Linked DNA regions of Homo sapiens: region 1 is linked to region 2. Evidence: promoter capture Hi-C in 16 types of primary human blood cells and fetal thymus (Javierre and others, 2016). All regions are on one chromosome and are shown on one strand. Each heading gives the region's core, a stretch centred on a gene start or on the middle of the fragment in contact. The rest is flanking DNA. Distances are from core to core; before and after follow the strand shown. Region 1 overlaps ZBTB2 (zinc finger and BTB domain containing 2). Region 2 holds the start of KLHL32 (kelch like family member 32).

Evidence for each region. The method cuts DNA at HindIII sites, captures the fragments that hold promoters and counts their contacts. A CHiCAGO score of 5 or more calls a contact.
Region 1: a contact is called between a fragment that was not itself captured here and the fragment with the promoter of KLHL32 in region 2, in 1 of 17 cell types (total B cells). The highest score is 5.2, in total B cells.

What each region holds. Positions count from the first base shown.
Region 1 is chr6:151,385,311-151,388,292 of GRCh38, reverse strand. The region is part of intron 1 of ZBTB2 (zinc finger and BTB domain containing 2); the gene reads left to right. Among named protein-coding and RNA genes, the nearest start is that of ZBTB2, 4.8 kb to the left of the region's middle. RefSeq lists an enhancer at 2,672-2,831. The HindIII fragment of the contact is 3,678 bases long and covers 1-2,982 here.
Region 2 is chr6:96,923,261-96,926,236 of GRCh38, reverse strand. It overlaps KLHL32 (kelch like family member 32), which reads right to left and starts at 1,509. Exons shown (of 11, transcript NM_052904.4): 1 at 1,211-1,509. RefSeq lists a silencer at 1,473-1,782. The HindIII fragment of the contact is 7,655 bases long and covers 1-2,976 here.

The DNA of each region.
Region 1 (2,982 bases), core at 6-2,505, about 54 Mb before region 2:
GGAACTTGGAAAAGCTGGGCAAGTCCCGTGGCACCAGCCTGCACAGGAGAGGAAGATTGAAAGAACTGGTTTGCTGGTAATTTTTTTACCATAAAATACCAAATGCACCTGGGAAAGGTCATTTATCATCACTTTTCCTATTTTCTTATGCTCTTTGGCTCTCCAAACATGACTGAAAACCTAAAAGGGAACTGAACATTTTTATTTCCCTGAAGAAAAAAAAAAAATGTAAACATTCTAAGCATTAGACTAAGAATATTTCTAAAACGTTCTTTATGCTCAAGTAGGTTATAATTTGTGCTAGCAAATTAAACTATTAAATAATTAAAATATTACTTCGAATTGATAGTAAATAAGATTCAGTATTTTTACAATGCCGATAGAGCCATTAAGATATGGAATCAGTAGCCACAGAACCCTTACAAGGAGTTGGCAGCCCAACATATGTAGATCCATTTTAGAAGCCAACTTGGAGGCTCATATTTATGCTCAAACTCATAACCCCCAGTTCACATGCTTGAGGTATGCATCACATGCCTTTGAGTGTCACTTTAAGAAAGTTCAGTATTCAAAGATAGGAATTTGAAAAATACTTTTATGTATCTGGCTAAGTACTTAGGGAAACTACTTTTTTACTTTTGTTAGAGATTTTAGTGTACTGTTCTCTTAAACAGGGGGCACTCGCTAAGTTCTGCACCAAGCAGGGTAAGCGTCAGAATCCTCTGGAATGAAGTGCGCATGTTCTCCTGCACCGGGAGAGTCATTTAGGTTCTCTGAGTCCCCAAAGTGATTCTGAACGGCGCTTGTCTAAGTGTGGTCTGCAGATCCTTTTGAAGCCCCAGGATCCTTTCAGGATTCAATGAAGTCAAAACTGTTGTCACAGTAATACTAAGTTGTTATGGCCTTTTCCGCTGTGTTGACAAAATGTCTTCTCAGTGTTGACACTGAGAAGATCTGCTTAATTCAGTGAGCCGATATTTTCCAAATGACCAACAGATGATGTTAAAAATCATGAGTGGGTAAATGATCCGTTGAAAGTGGATAGACCAATGAATATTACTATAATAGAGTAGGAAAAGTTAATTCAGTTATGTAGTTTTATATTACACAACCAACTTTTAAGAAAGTAGACTTGTCAAGTGTTGGTATAATATAAAAGAGGACTGTCCACAATTACCTGAAAAGGCTATTCAAATATATCTCCTTTTTCCAACTACATAGGTGGGTGAGGCTGGATTTTCTTCACTACTCAACCAAAACAGAGTTAATTGAGGAGTAAATGCAAAATCCAGTTGTCTTCTGTTAAAGAGAATTGCAAAAATATAAAAAGACACCACTTTGTTATTTTAGAAAATACAATTATTTTTTCATAAAAATGTTCTGTACTTTAACATGTAATGGCCTTATTGTTTTTAATTGAATTAAATATTTCTAAAATTTCTCCATTTTGGTAATTATCAGTAGTTAAAATCCATATAAACATATAATTGATGTTCTTAATAATTTTTAAGACCATTAAGGGATCCCAACACCAAAAAGTTTCAGAAGCTCTGCTCTAAAATATTGAAACATATTATTAAGACTTTGAGTTAAACACATTTGAAACTCACCTGTGTTATATACCCTGAACTACACATTTAGGTGATTATATTTTCTTCAGATTAATTTTACTAATCATTTTATGGTATATAAAAAACAAAGGCAATCTCCACTCTGGTGGATTATTAGAAGCAGATCAGTTTTTTGTTGTTGTTGTTTTGAGACAGGGTCTCACTCTTTCATGCAGGCTAGAGTGCAGTGGCATGACCATGGCTCACAGCAGCCTCAGCCTCCCTGGCTCAAGCAATCCTCCCACCTCAGCCTTCTGGTAGCTGGGACCATGGGCACATGCCACCACATTCAGCTAATTTTCTTTTTATAGAGACAGGGTCTCGTCATGTTGCGCAGGCTGGTCTCCGGGGCTCAAGTGATCTGCCCGCCTTGGCCTCCCAAAGTGCTGAGATTACAGGGGTGAGCCACTGTCCCAAGCCCAGATTAATTTTTTAATTTTGCCGTGTGTAATCATCTGTAAGTTTCCTTCAGGTTGATTGTAGCATAATGCCTTTAGAATTATTACTTTAATATGAACTCGTTATTAGCCATAAATCTCTGATCTACTTCTGTTTGACACCTAAGATGTCCCTGAATTGCCTCCTTATGACCCCAACTTACATTTGGAAACTAAAAACTAATTTAAGTGTAAACATAGGGAAAATATAATTGAAAACAGGAGTATTTTACAAATGCAGTGCTTTTTAATATGAAAATAAGTGCTGTTTATGCCTCTCTCTTTTCTAATTACTATGGAAGAAGGTTGACTAAGGAAATGTTAAGAAAAAAATGCCACTCCATTATCACAACTAAATAAGATGCATTTTCTACCTTCAAAATACAGTTTTAAAATGTATTAAAATTCAAATGACCAGCCTTCAGGTTTACTTCATGGGCCCTCCAATATTAATTATTAATAATAGTAATTGAAAAATCAGCTTTTCATCCTAGTAAGTGGTCTAAACTACTTGAAAGAATCAATCTTACTTGTGGGTAATGCCTCTGCTGTTACTGATTGTCCTTTGAATTACAATATTCATTTATGCTTCACTTAAATAAAATCAAGGACTTCAGAGGACCCTTTTAGTGCCCTTGAAATGGGTAGTGTAAGTGGTGTTTAGTGTCTTAGAACAGCTATTATCTTTAAAAACTGAATCAACAATTTCCACAAGCTGTTTTGATCTCCTATTCTTACACTGAAAATGAAGGAGGAACTTAGGTTGTCAAAATACAACATAATTGTATGTGCCCCATTCTTCTGCACTTCTAAAAGGATGAGTGAGTTGCTTACGGATCAGCCCACATGTGCTCTGTGATGAAAACTGAAAGCAAGTGACAGCTAGGTGGTCAATGTCCTGTTATCAAGGAGGAAACAGTGGCAATGAAAACCAA
Region 2 (2,976 bases), core at 260-2,759:
AAGAAGTAGAAAAGATGAACAAATATCCAAGGAAAACAAAATTAATTCTTGAATGCCAGTGGATCTTTACTGGGCCATTTGTTTGTGATGGAGGCATGAAATTCGTGCAAAGTGTAATTACTGGATTGCTGATGCCTTCAAGTACTGTGTTACAAGTTCACCCAATAGACACCCGAGACCTCAAAATAAAACAAAACTGACAGCCCAGGTATTAGGCTGACCTGTTCCATTGGCCTATCAGTGTTCCAGTAGAGGACCCAGTCCCATCAGAAAAAAAACAAAAAGCAAAAACCACTGCACTTTCATATAAGCTCTAGTAAGCCATGGCACACATTTTATATCTATCTCTATCTGTGTATAGAGATAGATCTAAAAATAATCAATAAGAGATTTTTTAAAAAACAGAATCTTCTCAGAAATGAGCAGAGGTGCAAAAAACTGCGCTTCAATACTGATGCAGGGGATATAAAAATGCTAGCAAAGATGTATGTCATGAATGCTACCTTCTTACGTTACGAATTCACAAACGTATTCCTGTTCTGGTCAATTTACAATAGAAGCTCATTCTTGTGTGGGGAAACACAATTAAATCATCTGCTTTTAATTTAAAATAATCACGACTAAGTGAACTGCAAAATAAAACTGGAAATAGAGGGGAAGAAGGGATCTAAACTGCAGTCATCTTTCTTTATAAGATCACCAAAATGGGAGTAAATTATGATTCAAGACACAATCCGTTGAAAAATTCATCTGACGAATCCTTTTTAAAGCATACCATATAGTGCAATTACGGCTTTTCTTGAAGTTGAATGAAACCGCCACCTGAATACAGATTAACAAATGCCAAATTACGAAAGGTCCTCAGTGTATATTTTATTTTAAATATCAAAATAAATAACGGCATCATTTAAGAAACCAGTTCTTTCAATAGATGTCCCACGGCTGATGTTTAAGCAAGTCTCCTTGGCAACCAAGGAGCACAGTACATATTGGGCTCAGGGGGAGGGAAGAAAGGGGGAGCGACTCCAGGGCTGGCAGCATAAGTAACCTGAGTAGTGGCTGCTCCCGTTAGACGACACGGGCAGAGGCTGCATGGGCTGCAAGCCCCTGAAATGTCAACTCCGGGTCTGCCCCCACTTGGCGCACCAGCAGCCTCCCACCCTCTTCCTCAGGTCTGCAGAACAGGTTACAAGGAGAGAGACTGGCTTACCCGATGGGGTGAGCGGTCTGCTGGGTTAGGTGCCAGAGACGGCAGCGCAGGCACCGGCCTCTCCTTGATGCACAATGGCTCTGCTTCGCCCCACGATGCTGAGGTTAACAGAACCCGCAGTAGCTTCGCTCTGCTGGTTCGGGGATGCAGTAGCGAAGACGAGCGTCCTAGCGTGTTTGTGTGTGCGAAAGTGTGTGTGTGTGTGTGTGTGTGTGTGTGTGTGTGCCTGCGTGCGTGTGTGCGCGCGACTGCCTGCGCGCTCCCGAACTGTCGCGCGGGGAAACTGCTCCCTAGTAAATAAAAAGCCCTAGCCAGCACTGCAGGTGGCACGTCCCGCTGACTCCGCCCCAGGCGGTCGCGTCAGACTGGAGACGCACCTTGGCACCCCCGGGGCGGGTTCAGACGCCACAGGGCTCCGCCCCCTCCCGCCTCCAGCTAGCCCGCGCGCTCCCTCCCCCTCCCCCGCGATCCCGCGCACATCCTTTCGCCACCCCGCGCGCAACGCCACCGCCCGCCGCCAGCGCGCTCGCTCCCCTGCCGCCCCCCGCCCCCGCCCCCGCCGTCGGCGAGCTGCCAGCGCGCGCCCGCCGGTCCCGGAAGTACCCTCCTCCACGCCGCCCTCCTCCTCGCTCTCCGGCACCTGCGTCGCCGGCCCCTGGGTCACATGCGCAGTCTGTAGCCACCACTGCGGCGACTGAGACCCGGGAACCCAGCCTGCTCGCCCCCAGACTCCTTTCCCAGGGCTGGCGGGCAATCTGAGCAAACAGACCCCGTGGCCCTAACTCGGTGTTCCAGGGAGTCCTTGCTCTGCTAACTTGTGAAGTTCAAGTTGCCTCTAGTCCTAGCGGCCCTACAGTGGCCCTCCTTAGGATAATACACTCTATGGTACTGACCAGAACAAATTCACAGTAACTTTAAGAAACGTCAGGGGAACCAACCCGCCAGAGGTGGACGAAATCCCCAAGCCTGAGAAATGAGAAAGGGTGTGATTACTGTGGTTACTACTAATTCAGCAATAAAACCGCAAACAGACAACAACCACAGAACCATACCATTAAATTCCAGGGCCTGGCACACTCAAGTGCCACTTCCGAGTCATTCAGGTCACTCCTGTGTAAAACATGCTGAGAAACTCACACTAAAGCAAAGTGGGTAATTTTAATAGGTAAGTATTCCACCACCGAATTGAAAACCTTAGTCCAACGTGGAGGTAAGACACCAGAAGCAGGAAGAGTGTAACTAAATTGGAGTAAACTGTATTTTGTAGAAGTTCAGGATTTAACTTACTGCAAAGATAGTATGTTAATCCTATTTCTTGCAGGTTTATGTTCTGCCACAGAGTTGGGCTAGGAACAGTGCCCTGATCTATTTTGAGGTGTCCTTAATGTTCTCATTGGTCTCAAATCAGTGGTTCAGCGATTATTTTCTACTTCTAGATCCACAGGATTTGGGGGTTTATTCGTTTGCTCCCTCTGGAGGTTATCTGTCTGGCTTGTAGTGCTTCATTTTCATGGTTTTGATATCTGGACGCTAGGATGCTGGGTACCTACTTATCTAGCAGTCCTGGACACAGCATAGGACAAGGGAAAGAATGACAAACAACTGACTACAAACATTAGGTGCAGTGTCATCCTAAGAATTTTTCATAAGCAACTTGATAGTTTTCATTGCGTTGTCTTCTATCAGAAAATCGAATATGAAAGCGTCTTTGAACCAAAAATATTGACAGTGACTGGTATCAATAAATAAAACAGTCCTTTAAGATC